Regions from separate parts of the Homo sapiens genome. Here regions 2, 3, 4 and 5 are each linked to region 1. Evidence: promoter capture Hi-C in 16 types of primary human blood cells and fetal thymus (Javierre and others, 2016). All regions are on one chromosome and are shown on one strand. The core of a region is centred on a gene start or on the middle of the fragment in contact, and the rest is flanking DNA. Distances in the headings are between cores, read along the strand shown. Region 1 holds the start of ZNF397 (zinc finger protein 397). Region 2 has its middle 20 kb from the start of MAPRE2. Region 3 overlaps MAPRE2 (microtubule associated protein RP/EB family member 2). Region 4 overlaps MAPRE2 (microtubule associated protein RP/EB family member 2). Region 5 has its middle 4.4 kb from the start of ZNF396.

The links. Contacts are between HindIII fragments. The CHiCAGO score rates a contact against its expected background, and 5 or more counts as called.
Region 2: a contact is called between a fragment that was not itself captured here and the fragment with the promoter of ZNF397 in region 1, in 11 of 17 cell types (fetal thymus, activated CD4 T cells, total CD8 T cells and 8 more). The highest score is 16.8, in fetal thymus.
Region 3: a fragment that was not itself captured here is called in contact with the fragment with the promoter of ZNF397 in region 1 in 4 of 17 cell types (total CD8 T cells, naive CD4 T cells, naive B cells and 1 more); the score reaches 6.1 in total CD8 T cells.
Region 4: a contact is called between a fragment that was not itself captured here and the fragment with the promoter of ZNF397 in region 1, in 2 of 17 cell types (activated CD4 T cells and total CD8 T cells). The highest score is 6.2, in activated CD4 T cells.
Region 5: a contact is called between a fragment that was not itself captured here and the fragment with the promoter of ZNF397 in region 1, in 13 of 17 cell types (total CD8 T cells, neutrophils, naive CD4 T cells and 10 more). The highest score is 13.3, in total CD8 T cells.

What each region holds. Positions count from the first base shown.
Region 1 is chr18:35,239,617-35,242,524 of GRCh38, forward strand. ZNF397 (zinc finger protein 397) reads left to right here and starts at 1,418. Exons shown (of 4, transcript NM_001135178.3): 1 at 1,418-1,493; 2 at 2,775-2,908. The coding sequence starts at 2,855. RefSeq lists enhancers at 1,100-1,209, 1,155-1,680 and a silencer at 1,470-1,599. The HindIII fragment of the contact is 1,449 bases long and covers 552-2,000 here.
Region 2 is chr18:35,019,471-35,022,378 of GRCh38, forward strand. It overlaps a transcript of MAPRE2 not described here. Among named protein-coding and RNA genes, the nearest start is that of MAPRE2, 20 kb to the right of the region's middle. The HindIII fragment of the contact is 667 bases long and covers 1,064-1,730 here.
Region 3 is chr18:35,066,681-35,069,588 of GRCh38, forward strand. The region is part of intron 1 of MAPRE2 (microtubule associated protein RP/EB family member 2); the gene reads left to right. Among named protein-coding and RNA genes, the nearest start is that of MAPRE2, 27 kb to the left of the region's middle. The HindIII fragment of the contact is 761 bases long and covers 1,004-1,764 here.
Region 4 is chr18:35,086,481-35,089,388 of GRCh38, forward strand. All of the region lies in intron 2 of MAPRE2 (microtubule associated protein RP/EB family member 2), which reads left to right. Among named protein-coding and RNA genes, the nearest start is that of MAPRE2, 47 kb to the left of the region's middle. The HindIII fragment of the contact is 833 bases long and covers 955-1,787 here.
Region 5 is chr18:35,380,286-35,383,193 of GRCh38, forward strand. No RefSeq gene overlaps it. Among named protein-coding and RNA genes, the nearest start is that of ZNF396, 4.4 kb to the left of the region's middle. The HindIII fragment of the contact is 3,438 bases long and covers 1-2,908 here.

The sequences.
Region 1 (2,908 bases), core at 168-2,667:
TTGAAGTGGTTCATTATGAAGCAATTGATAATTTATAAACAAATTAATATTATTTGGTTTTTTGCTTTGTAAAATTGCTGTAGTCATTTCACAATGATAAAATTATTTAGTGAGTCACTAATAGCTTTGAATGCTAACGAACATTTTTCTCAAATATGTGTTTTAAGTCTTGGCTCACAAAGGAGAATTTGTTTCTATGTATGTATGTATCGCTTTGTTATTATCCTGTGTACTTTTTTAATATAACATTTTAAAAATATGTAACATTTAAACATGTAAAATGTAACGTTTTAAAAATAAATACAAATAAATGGGAAACGATTTGCAACAAACGAGTTGCTATCCTTAATAAGCAAAAAATTCTCACAAATAAAAAAGAAAAATCTTACTCCCTTAATTTTTTAAATGGGAAAAGCCATCTCTGAAGAACCATAAATGGTCAGTAAACATGAAGGGGGACTATCTTAAGCTCACAAAGTTGAAACATGAGGCATCATTTTTCACCGACTAAATAGCCAAAGAAAAATTTAAACAGTGAGACAATACCAGCAAGCTTCCACTGAAGAACGGGAAGACCCTAAGATAGGCTCCAGGAGTCTACGATACCAGTCTCCTTGAACTATGGGGACGTGGACGTCCCTGGTCACAAGTTGCCTGACTTTGGGCGATGTCTACGGCTGTAAATTTGGGATTATATAGCCACAGCACAGAACTGTTGTAAGGCTCCAGTGATACTCATAGGCAAAAGCAATATAAGTGACTGTTAGTTTTTGTTCAGCCTATTCATCCTTACATTTACTTTTGTCGGAAAAGAACTGGAATCACAGGAAAATCTGAGGTTTTTTTTTTTTTTTTTTTTTTGAGACAGAGTCTCGCTCTGTCGCCCAGGCTGGAGTGCAGCACATCTCAGTTCACTGCAAGCTCCGCCTCCCGGGTTCACGCCATTCTCCTGCCTCAGCCTCCCGAGTAGCTGGAACTACAGGCGCCCGCCAACATGCCCAGCTAAATTTTTGTATTTTTAGTAGAGACGGGGTTTCACCGTGTTAGCCAGGATGGTCTCTATCTCCTGACCTCGTGATCCGCCCGCCTCGGCCACCGCGCCCGGCCGAAAATCTGAATATTTTAATGGAAAACTGGGAGTGAGATTCGGGAATTACTTGAGACCAACAATGATGGGTGGTGCCAGGAGAAAGCCAGGGTGGGAACGGCCCAGGCGAGATGCGGGACCCTCCAGGTGCCGCCGCTCACAAGGACCCCTGACTCCTAGCGCACCCTCCCCTGGCCTTGGAGATTCCGCCGGGCTAGCGGCTACCGGGAGAAGGCGGTGGAAACTGTAGAGCCCGCGGCTCTGATTGGCTACCTCAGAGCAAGGGGCGGGGCGGCGGAGGACCCGAAGGGCGCGAGAGCGGAACACTGCGTACGCGCACTTCCGGTCTTTGTGGCTTGCAGCTCGGGGTGGGTGGCTCATTTCCTGGCCGCTCCTGGGCTTCGCGGTGAGGGACGTGGGCCCCTAGGAAGAGGGAGGTGGGGTTGGGAGCGCGCGCCGGACAGTGGAGGAGCTCCGCTCCTCGGCCTGCCCATCCCCAGGTCGCGGCCCTTTGGCCCGCGCGGCGTCTCCAAGCGACTGGGGAACTCAGAGGAGGCCAGCACTCAAACTCCTGCTTTCCAAAGGAAAACGCAGTTCCGCTGACCCCGTGACTTCGTAAATGCTGCGGTTTAACCAAGGATATAAAAATAGAAGGGCTAGTTAGTTAGTTAGTTAGTGCGGCCGGACTGGTTAAACCTTAAATTTGTAGGCTAAATATTTTAATTCATCTCTTAACGTTAACCGTAGTGTGAGGAATGAATTTTACTCATCTGTCCTGACAAACTAAGGGCATACATTCCTATCGATATCTCGCCATCCTAAAAGCAGGTCAAGTTTGGTCTGTGTCACAACATTTAATACCTATTTGTTACCATATTTTGCTTTTGAACATTTTTAGTCTTGGGATATTCTAAGCTTTTTCAGAACTGATACGGATCTCTTTGCTGCTTTTGTGTATGTGATACCTATCATGTTTTTGAACACATGGTAAGCATTTTACAGATACGTCTTGGTTCTTGGTCAATTCCTCTGTAGACTCGTTTATTCATAAGCAAAAATCTTAATGCTCAGTAAGTGCCTCAGTGTTTGTTGAAGTAATTCGGTAAACACCAAATGCGATCAAATGACAAATATCCAATATTTACATCAACTCATGTTTAATGTGAACTTTTAAAAAAACGTTATTACTGCCTTAAATGAAAATCAACATTACTTGCTTTAGATAGAAAGTAAGTAAAAATAAATGTTTAAAATCAGTATTACTAAATTCTGCCTAAATATTTTTACTCTTGGAAGTCTGATTCTGAAGCCTGTATTTTATTTAAAAGAGAGTTCTACAAGTTTTATTAATACATACATGTTAAAGATAGACTTTTCTCCTTGATACAATCAGAATTGAAAGAATTGGAAAGGAAATTTTCTCACTATGTGATTGATGTTAATGTTGCATTCACATTCTTAGGCTTCTAAAATAGTTTTTTCTAACATTAGTGGTAGGAATTCTTCATAATGGGAGACACTAATTGAGGTTAATGATTTTTAGTTTATCATCACATTATTGTTTTATTTAGTGATAGCCCCAAATCTACTCCCTTTCAATATATTACTAAAGTTACTCATCTTTCTTATTACAAGTACTTAGAGATTTTATTGATTGCTGTAAGTTAACTGCTTTTATATCCTTCAGGAAAGAAGAGATTACTCACACTCCTTCGCAAGCACAGAACCAGTTGTACTGAGCTTTTTGCTAAGCTGTTTCAGCCAAGAATGGCTGTGGAATCTGGAGTGATTTCAACCCTGATACCTCAGGATCCTCCGGAA
Region 2 (2,908 bases), core at 147-2,646, 220 kb before region 1:
ATGATCTATCTAATGCTGTCAGTGGGATGTTAAAGTCCCCCACTATTATCATGTGGCTAGTTTTATACAGTTGTAACCAGGCCTTGTCATATTTTATTTTCTTCTTCTTTACTTTATGTCATAAGCAGTTTTCCATGCTACAGTACATATTCATGATTGTAGACATGTTTTAATGTGTGTCAAATAGTCTGTAGAGTTGACCATTATTTATCCAACTTGCCATTGTTTGCCATATGGAGTCTGTTTCAAAGTTAACTTTGGTGTGCCTGAAACTTATAGATCATAACTGGTTAAATAATACTCTGAGTGGCAATCTCATACCTATGTGTCCCCATATCCCTGTGAATATAACATGTTTTCTATTACAGCGTGGAATTCCTGATTGGATATTACCTCAGATTTTTAAAACCTTTTTCACATGTATAATTTTTGCTTTCCAAATAATAATATTCTTAAGAACAATGGATGAGGCATTCTAGTTTACTTATCTCCCCAGACATTAGATACTTAATACATACTTCTGAGTTCTGTAAAATCAGCTCGGCCTCAGGTTGCCTGGCTACTTGTACTGTGGATGACACAGATTTTCAGCACCCCTTACCTCAAATATCATTCTGCTTAAAATGTGTGCATGATGTGTTTGTCTCTGTTCTAAAATTAGCTGTGCTTCAGTCTTCAAGAAAGCAATTCAGATGAATCACAGATTATCAGGATAACATCAAACTACAGAAGGAAAAATGAATAATACAGGTCAAGATAAGCCCCAGAGTGCCTCCCTAAAGAACTCGATTCTAGGCCATGAGGATATTTTATTCTCCAGCTGGACTCTAAATCCTACTTTGGATGCTGATGTGTTATTCTGTTATGATTTTTCAAGGCAATGACTATGCTTTATATTTGGTTGGTAGTTTCTCTCATGGAATTCTTTAACTTTATTTTCGCCCTTGGTGAGTGCCATGTTCAAACCTGTGTCAGGTAATGCCATTCATGCAACATTACTTCGGTTTATAAGCTGGCCTGAACCATTTGCACCCTCTTTTAGTGAGTGCTTAGCTTAGAGAAAAGCTTTCCTTGGCTTGTCAAAAAAAAAAAAAATGTGCAGTGAGTGCTTAGAACATTTGTATACTGATATTATTGCCTCTGACCAGAAGCAACCTATTTCTGTAAAGGTGTCTTCGAATAAGACTATCTAACCACTCTTGCCTCCTACTCAAGAAAACGTATCCCCTCAATTATAAAATAAAAATTTCCTGGCTCGAGAACATTACTTTATTTAAAAAGCTGTGTCCATAAATTTGATATTTTCGTTGTATAGTGAGACATAAAAACATGAAGCATTTGCTTTTAAATTTTCATTTAGGTAAAATGATTTTAGATTATATACTAAAAATGGCAGAGAAGAAAATTCTGGTTGGAAAAATTGCCATTGCTGGCACAAGAAACAGAATTATTTGTCTGGATGGAACTCAATACATATTTTTAACTGATACAGAATTAGGGGTATCCTGGAATGTTCAAAAAGACTTCAGAAGATGTGGTCTTTGAGCCGAGCCTGCCTGTGTAAAATGGTAGATGAAAGGAAAAAGGACATTCCAGGCGAGAAATGAAATGTAGGCCATCTCAAGGGGGCAGAGAGAACCTGGTACTTTAGTGTGAATAATGGAGGATTAAGGAAGAAAGATAAGCTAGGGTCAAACTGTGCAGAGTCCCAAATACCAGACCATTACTTAAGCTTTATATTTTAGACAATGAGGGAAATGTTGAACATGATGCAAGTATATTCTAGAAAAATTCGTGAGTTTTAAGATGACAGTCTAAATACAGTTTTGCTCCCATCTTCCCAGCTCTTCAACTGAAATAACAAAATTTAAAAAGGAGAGCAAATCCATGACACTTACAGAAACATGAATGGGGACCAGAAATGGACAAAGTTCTGGAAGATGGAAAGGGCATAGGATTATATTGCCAGCTAAATAAGAGCAAAAATTGAAAAAGAAATAAAATAGCTAATTTAGATGAAGTAATTCAGAGAATAGAAGAAAACGTTTAATAAATATCCTTAAACAGACAAAAAGTATTGCATCCCTTAAACTTCACGGCCCCACTCCTCCCAGAAAAAAAGAGTTGCTATGAATAAGAGGTAATCAGAAAGTGCAAGAGCTTTGGCGAATTAAAAATATAATTAAATCAAAAATCAATTGGACTTAGTGTGGCTGAGAGTATCACAGGGTATAAAGCAAAAGATGAAAAGACAGAAAATACTAGAAAAGTATTAGAGAAATAGAAGAATGATCTAAATGGCCTGGCATTCTTTATGAAGAGTTTCAAGAAGACATTGAAGACAAAGAAATAAAGGCATAAAGATTCAGATTAAAAGAGGCTACTGAATGTTGACCACGATGAATTTAAAAAACCCAAACCTAGGTCCACCCTCATGAAATTTCAGAATAAAAGAGATGTTAGAGCTTGAGGGTCAGAGAGAAGAGTGATTACATACAGAAGAGTGATCACCTGAATGTTATAGACATCAATATGCAATTCTGAAGCCTCAGAAGCAGTGGAACCATGCTTTCAAAGTTCTGAGGGAAGTGATTTTGGACATTTCAACTATCAATAAAATATAAAAACAAATAGATAACTTCTAACATGAAAAGGTTTGAAAACTTTACGTCTCTGTATCTCTCAAAAAATAATTTCTAGATGAACTCCAGCAAAGTAAAAGAGAAAAAATAAAGAATAACATAACATCTAAAAATCTATGGAACTAATGAAAGAATCCAATTACAAGAAGTATAAGAAATACCAGGATGCTAGCAGGGATATCAAAGCAATTTGTTCAAATTAGTAAGTAAGTTTCATGCAGAATGTTTTGAAGAAAAACCCAGATTCTATGGTTTATACTTAGACC
Region 3 (2,908 bases), core at 134-2,633, 170 kb before region 1:
TCCTTTTTCCACTTTGGCTGACACTTCACTTGCGGGAGGTTCAGGACAGTTCCCCTTCCAGGGAAAGTGAGTCCAGACTCAGAACTCTCAGGCCTAAAATCGGAAAAGCTGGCTTGTTTGGGTTCGGGGCAAACATTGGGAGCAAAGACAGCCACAGAGTGAAGTGCGCTTAGAAGTACCTTGCTGAAATTTGGAAAGAGGAAGATCGATTATAAGAATATTCCCATCAGCAGGGGTGTTAAATAGAAATTAACTATATTGATTTCATTGTTATTAATTTGAAGTAGGTATTGAAGTCTACTCATTTAATGTGTTGTTATTTTATTTTAGGAAATGGTGAAAAATTTCTTGCCTTCATTGGTTCACTTATTCTTAATCTGTCTTCTAAACTAGTTATCCCACAGGTCCCTTAACACATGGTAGCCCCTGCCACAGGGCTTGTGAGGACTACAGCTGTGTTGGCTAGCAATGGTGGAGATTTGAGTGGTATGCCTGGTAACTAAGTACCCAGAATTTTTCTAAAGCCCAGATCTGGTGCTGTTTTCATTGTTTACCTGATCATCTTAATGAACTGCTTGAAGGCAGATAGTGCCTTGACTTACCTTTGTGAGCTGAATGTCTGTTTACATTATGAAAGGACAATTGTTGTCCTTAAGTGAATGTTATCAGCAAAGACCTGGAGGAAAGTGTGATTTATTGACAAACTGCAGCAAATGACCTGCTTCCTTGTTTATATGGATTTTTAAAAAGCTGTCATTACTCTTCTACCTGTACTTCTGTTGTATATTAATTTCTCTTATGTAACCACAGAACGTTTTTACTCACTTGTGTATGGGTTATTTTTCTAAAACACAGATCTGTTTGTGTCTTTTCTGCTTTGCATTTAGATTTTTTTTAAATCATCTTGATTAAAAATTTCATCTCAATTTGGTTTGGTGCCATCTAGCATAACCCTGGGCCTCGACACCACATCCTCCATCAGTACATTGCCCGGTAATGCAGAAGCTTTCCATTACTGCCTGAAGAAGAAACCGCTAGAAAAGCCCATCAGCTGCCAAAAGTTATGCCAGTATATGATCATTTCATCAGTCCAAAATATTTTAAATTTTGAATTATTTACCCTTACTAAGATTATACATAATTTACATAGATGATTTTAAAAATTGACTACATTTAAAAAGCAAATGGTTTCGTTTAATAAATGATAGACTAAAGAAAACAGTGGAAGTTATTAACCAAAAAGTAAAAAACCTTCAATAATGGTGTACAAAGCAGTAATTATGGTCACACTATCTGAGATTCCTATGCTGTGAGATTTTTCAGATCCTTACGAGAAGACAATTTAGAGATAAGGGTGCTTCTGGGAATGGAGTGATAGATATTTATTTTTACATTTATTTCTAAATGAAACCTTCATTTAGCACTTTAAAGTAGAAAACAGATTTTTATTGCTTTCATGAGCATAAATAGGAACTCCAAACACAACTATTTCATAAAATGTAGATTTTTGTCTAAAACCTATATACTATAGATTTTGCTATTATATCTAGTCATGTTTAAAAATATTACTTCTATATCTGTAAATACCATTTTTCACTAAAAGGAATCAGGAGCGCTTGGAGAAATTACTGGTTTTAGGTCTGAGGCAAGAAATATACAAGTTGGCCTTGGAACATCTCGTCATATTGGAAAAGAAGAAGGTTATCAAAGACCACTAAGACTGTGTCAAAAGAACTTAGAGGCTAGCTTGAATAAGCTCTTGCAAGCTTTTATCAATAAAGGTATAATTTCAATGGATTGAAACATATCAAATATGTTTAAGTCCATGGATTCATAATTATACTTCAAAATATAAGAACAAAAACTTCATTGGTCATGTTTGGAGAATATTAGGGAACTACTCATCACTTTGAAAACTGGCAAATAGAGAAAAAGAGTTAGGCACCTCTCCTGCCTTTCCTCGATGACCTGTATCTCAGGGTACCTCAGGGGGAAACTTCTCTTTGTAGAATTATTCCAGCTAATAAATCAAGAATGAATAATAGAATATTTGAAGTTTTAGTGAATTATTGGATCTAGGCAAATATCAGAGCTAACAATATCATGGAAGCAGGCAGTCAGAGGTAATAGTTATCTGCCTTCTGATGGAAGTTCAAACACGGCGTGAAATAGTCTGTTTGATGCAATTGTCATATACTGGCATAACCTTTGGCAGCTGATGGGCTGTTCTATTGGTTTCTTCTTCAGGCAGTAATGGAAAGCTTTTGCATTACCAGGCAGTGTATTGATGGAGGATTAGGTGTCAAAGCCCAGAGTTGTGCTAGATGGCATCAAATCCCCGTCCCATTAGAACTTGAATAAGATCAAGGCTCTAGATGGAATTATCAGTCTGTAGGGATGCAGAGGACAGCGGAACATGTTAAACCACAGCAGTGTGATACAATGAGAAAAATCCAGAATGTGGAAACTATCAGACAACCTAGTTCCTTCAACAACAACTTTTTTTTTAATTGCAAGGAAAGATTAGAAATAGAGAAGAAACTTTATAAAGAAATTTAAAGAATGTATCAAAGAATCATAATGTATGAACCTTATATGAATCCAGATTCAAGCAATCTGAAGTTAAATTTGTATTATAATATATTGAAATGCATATTTGATATAAGTAATTATTTTCATTTTTAGGTGTGATAATATTCTGTTTTTTTTAAAAATTATTTTTCAGAGACACACTGAAACACTTATAGGTGAAATTATGTGATTATTGGCACTTACTCCAAAATAATCTGGCTTGGTAGGCTAGGATGGGATTGACACAAGGGGAGTTGATAGGAGTATAAATCAAACAAGATGGTCAAGTATTGATAATTCTTGAATCCAAGGGGTAAACCTAACTGGTTTGTTATTC
Region 4 (2,908 bases), core at 121-2,620, 150 kb before region 1:
TATAGCTGATACTTCTAACACCAGTCCAAACGATTTATATGTTCTCTTGCATTTTCCTTTATATTTCCTTTTAGAATTATCTATAAAAATCTATAAAAATTTCTAAAACTTAATCTATAAAAATTTCCAAACACTCTTTGAACCTTTCAATTTTTACATATAATTTCCTAAAAGCAGCATAGAAAAAAGGAATGTTTTTCTTAAAAAAAAAAAATTGAAGTTCAGATCAGAGTTTAAATTCCACTCTGCAATTTCTTAGCTGGGTGACTTTCTGAGCCTTGTTCCCATACCTGTAAAATATGGGAATGATAATAAAAATACTTACCTCTTAAGGATACTATGGGATTCAGAATGTTTAAAATACATATGAAAACGCTAACAGATTTTACCCAAATGTGGGTGTTTTTATGTCTTATGTTTCTTGCGTAATATATTCCATAAATTTGTTATTAGAGTAATATTTCCTTTTATCTGAAAATTTCCACTTTAAAAATGTCCATTTATTCTGATATTACTCTATGGTTGAAATCCTGGGATCTGGTGAAAATGAAATTGTCTTAGGCTTTTCATGATTTTATAGACTTAAATCATACACTCCTGAATCCTTTGAGTATGAATGTTCATTTTTGAGCTCTGCCATCTTCATACAGCCTCCCAGCTGTTCATTTTTTATTCCTGTCCTCACACTTGTCAGCTTCATTATGTCAATTTTGATGTATAACAACTGAAACCAATCTTAGGGCTGCAGGGGTACAGACAGTGTAGAAAGAATAGTTTTTTCCCCCCTACTTATTTCCAGATCATTTCAGAATCTTGTAGACCTTCACAATTGCAGCAGCACCTTGAGCTTATGGGCTCAGAGTATATCCCATCATAATTAACCTCTTAGTAGGCACAGCATCCTACAATTTGGGTTGTGTTACTTGAATGTGTTACCCTATGCTTAGCTTTTAAAGCTTATCTTTTACTTTTCTGCAGACTTGGTCTCTAGGGTCATTCTTATATTTGAGTGGCTTTAAAAAATTTTATTTATACCTCGTCAATTCTTAAAAGAATTTTTAGCAACTCTTCTCATAATATCTCTTTGGGGAGTTTGGCAACATAAGAATTTTACTGTTTACCAGCCCTTGTTGTGGTTCAACTGCTATGCAGATCTTCATTCATTAGCCAGATATTTATTGAAACCCACTTATGCCAGGTACTGTATTAAATGTTTAGATACATAGGGGACCAAGACAAATAAGGCACAAGTATTCTTGAAACTTATATTGCAGCGAGGGAAAAAATAAGCCACAAACTCTCTTAGTCTGTTTTATGCTGCTATAACAGAATACTTCAAACTGGGTAATTTATAATGAACAGTTATTTATTGTCTTCCTCTTCTGGAGGCTAAGAAGTCCAAGATCAGGGAACCAGCATCTGGCAAAGGTCTTCATGCTGCGTCATTCCATGGCAGAAATGCAAGAGACAATAGGGGAGAGAACAAGAGCCAAATTTGCCCTTTTATAACGAATTGCTTTCCCAAGAATGGCATTCATCCATTTCAGGAGGGCTGAACCCTCATGGACTGCTTACCTCTTAGTGGTCCTACCTCTTAATTACCATCACAATGGCAAATAAATTTCAACATGCATTTTGGAGGGGATATCCAAACCATAGCACCAACATAAGAGTTAATACAATGCCAACATAAGAGTTAATAAAACAGGATGAGGTGAAAAAGAGTGCTTAGAAGGCTACTTCATGTGGCATAGTAAGGGAGGACCTCTCTGAGGAGATGACATATAAGCTTTCATCTGAATGTCAAGAAGGTCACCATGTGAAGTTCTAGATGAAACTGTGTAAAGGTCCTAATTCAGGAGCAAATCTGAAGTGTTCTAGGAACAGCAAGGAAGCCAGCATGAAGGGAGCTTCCTAAAAGGAAGTTAGACAAGGGAGAAATAGACAGAGGCCTGATAACAGGGTATTTTAAGCCAGGGAAGGAATTTGGATTTTATGATAGTTTCATAGAAAACCACTGTGATATTCTTAGCAGGAGAGGGATGTGATCTGAATAAGGGTAACCGTGGCATAATGAGATAAAATTGTGTTTATTCAAAATGTACCTCACATTATTGCAAGGGTAGTTAAATGGCACAAAAGTCTGTGTATCTGTTGATGAGGAACATTCTGATTTGTGGCTGGGTAAGACTTCCAGGACACTGGCAATGATTCCTGAATATTTCAGTTTGTTGACATCTATTTTTATCTGATTAAAGAAGAAAATATAGAATTTCAAGAGCAAAAGAGGTGGTCAATAAGGCCAAATACTATTAAGAGGTTGAGTAGGATGCAGAAAGAAAAACAACTGTTTGATTTGATAGCAGAGAAGCTTTTGATGACCTTGACCAGAACATGGTGAGGTTGGAAGACAATTGAATTTGTATTAAATTGAATTGGATGTCAGATGAAACAATGAAAACAGAGACCATTTGAAGTTTTACTGTGAAGAGGAGGAGATAGTACATAGCTCAAGGATGATGTGGGATCAAGAAACTTTGGTTTTATTTTGTCAAAGTTGAATGATACTGGAGCATATTTGCAGGATTTAGGAATAACATATGCAGGAAGAATTTTGCATTGCAGGAGAGAATGAGGATAGCAGCAGGAATGACTCAGTGAGTAAGAGGAGACGTGACCCAGAGCACAAGTAGAGAGTTGAACTTTGATAGGAACTATGCAGTTTCTCAAAGAACGTGAGGTATAAATCGTCATGACCTTGGATTATGCAGTGGTTTTTGGTTATAACAACAAAAGCACAAGTGACAAAAGAATGAATAGCTAAATTGGATTTTATTGAAATATAAAACATTTTTGCTTCAAATGATACCATCAAGAAAGTGAAAAAACAGTCCACAGAATGGGAGAA
Region 5 (2,908 bases), core at 136-2,635, 140 kb after region 1:
GAGAATCACTTGAGCCCAGGAAGTCAAGGCTGCAGTGAGCCATGATCATTCCACTGCACTCCAACTCGGGCAACAGAATGAGACCCTGTCTCAAAAAAAAAGAAACTTAGGTTTATAAACACTGCATGTTCTCACTTATAAGTGAGAGCTAAACATTGAGTACACATGGACACAAAGAGGGGAATAATAGACATTAGGGCCTACTTGAGTGGGGGGTCGGGGTTCAAAAACTACCCACTATGCCTATTACCTGGGTGATGAGATAATATGTACACCAAACCCCCATTCAGTTAATCTGTATAACAAGCCTCCACATGTACCCCAAAACTGAAATAAAAAATTAACAAAAATAAAAACTTTAAAATTAAAAAAAAAAGAAATTTAGATTGAGCAATAAAAAGCAATTTGCCTACAATGGAACTATGGTTTCCAAGCAAGTGGTGGATGGGTTGTATGTGTAGGAGTCCAAGTGTGGGTACACACTTGTCAACCTGAAATAATAAAAGGGTCAGAATCCAGTTTTAAAGAGTTTATTCAAACAAAAAGCTGGGAATAGCCATTCCAGGACACACAGACTCCAGAGAAATGGGATCAGTGCTCCAAAGTTAAAAGTTAAATCTTGCTAATATAGGAAGAAGACAAAGAAATTTATCAGGATTGCAACATTTTCTATACAAGGCTGGCTTAATAGTTTCAACAAATTAATTAGTTAGTTTGTTTTCTTTTCCATATAGCTTGTTTTCTTTATAGTTGGTTTTCATTTGGTTTCCAATTTAAAAGAGTGTATTTAACATTCTATCTTAAGTCAATGTGATAGTCAAGAAGTCTGTGTGTGAGAAAGGTAAGAGAAAGGTGAATCTATAATAAAGGCCAACAGTGGAGAGGGAAGGGGTCTTCCTCTTCCCTTTGGCCATATATAACATTTTACAAAACAATGCAGGTAAGGGAAAAGGCTTCATCTGTAATCAGAGAAACAGAAGGTTATAGCTCCCTAGTTTATAGGTGCCTACCATGTGACTCAGGATCAGTAATAACATTCTTCCAAGTCCTAAAATAATTTAGAGTTCTAGCAGCTTAGATTTCGAATGACTCTTTTTCACACAGTGAACAGATATGAGAGTTTGTGTGAGGGAACTAGGGGAGCTCTCTCTCCCTTAGTGGAAGACGTGAATAAAGTATCAAGTTGGGAAAACAATTAAGGAAGTGTATTAGTCTGTTTTCACGCCGCTGATAAAGACATACCTGAGACTGGCAATTTACAAAAGAAAGAGGTTTAGTTGGACTTACAGTTCCACATGGCTGGGGAGGCCTCACAATCGTGGCAGAAGGCAAAGAGGAGCAAGTCATATCTTACGTGGATGGCAGCAGGCAAGAGAAAAGAGAGCTTGTGCAGAGTAACTCCTGTTTTTAAAACCATCAGATCTAATGAGACCCATTCACTATCATGAGAACAGCATGGGGAAAGACCCGCCCCCATGCTTCAGTCATCTCCCACCGGGTCCCTCCCACAACACATGGGGATTATGGGAGCTACAAAATGAGATTTGGGTGGGGACACAAAGCCAAACCATATCAGGAAGTATCCCAAACTGAGTTCATCTTCTCTCTCCATCACCCTCAATAGGCCAAATTCCTTGCTTTGATAGTGAAACTGCTGTTAGCTCTATGTTCCAGGCAGTAAGTCTTAGGAGTCATCTTACACATTTTTCTTTCCCTTGTTTATGAAATCCAATGTGGTCTCAAAGTCAACAGACAAACCTGGGTTCACTCCCCAACTCTGCCGCAAGCTACTGTGGGTTAAGTCCTAAAATTCTCTAATCCTTATTTCCTGATTATAAAATTGGGATCATAATAATCTGAAGATTAAATGAAATAATGTAGCTAAAGCTCCCCAGGTGATTTCAGTGGGCACTTGTATTAGCTTCCTGTGGACACTGCAACAAATTATCACAAATCTGGTGGCTTAAAACAACAGAAATATATTTCCTCACAGTTCTAAAGGCCAGAAGTCAGAAACCCATTTCACTGGGCTTAAAGTGACAGCATGCAGGGCAGTCCTCCTTCTGGAGGCTCTAGAGGAGAATTCATTCCTTTCTTCCTCCAGCATTTTTTGGCTGTCAGCATTCCTTGGCTTCTGGCTGCATCACTCCAATCTTCAAGGCCAACATCTTCAAATCTCCCTCTACGTCCTTTTCATAAGGATGCATGTGGTTGCATTTAGGTCCCACCCAGATAATCCAGAATAATCTATCCATCTCAAGACCCTTAATTTAAACACATCTGCAAAGTCTCTTTTTCCAAATAAGGTAACATTGGTAAATGTGATGTAAACATTTGTAAATGTTCCAGGAATTAGGACCTGATATCGTTTGAGACCATTTTTTAACCCACCACAGCAGCCAATGGGGAGAGTCTCCATATTTGCTAAATAAAGAATTGTCTCAAAGAAAAAAAATCTTTGAGAAGACAAGCATTTGAGAGGAATTTTAACCCATGATCTGTGGCTCTTTGTGTACCCAACGTGGTAACCACTAGACACCTGTGGCTAATTACATTTAAATTTTAATTAATTAAAATTAGAAATTCAATTCCTCAGTCACACTTGCCACAGTTCAAATGCTCACTAGCCTCATGTGGCTAGTGGTTCCCATAATGGACAGCACAAGTATAGAACATTTTCATCAGCACAGAAAGCTCTAACAGACATTGCTGGGTACCTCTTGAAATATATGTTTCTAGGTGCATATGTGCATTTTTCTTGGGGCAGGGTCTAACAGAAGACACAAGCTATAAATCTTGACAATGACCAGTCTGTTGACGGGTTCTATTTAGCCCATTGTTTTAAAATTGAATTGGTTGTTAACTTTTAAGTTTTGATTTAAGACATTATAAAGAAAAACAAACTACA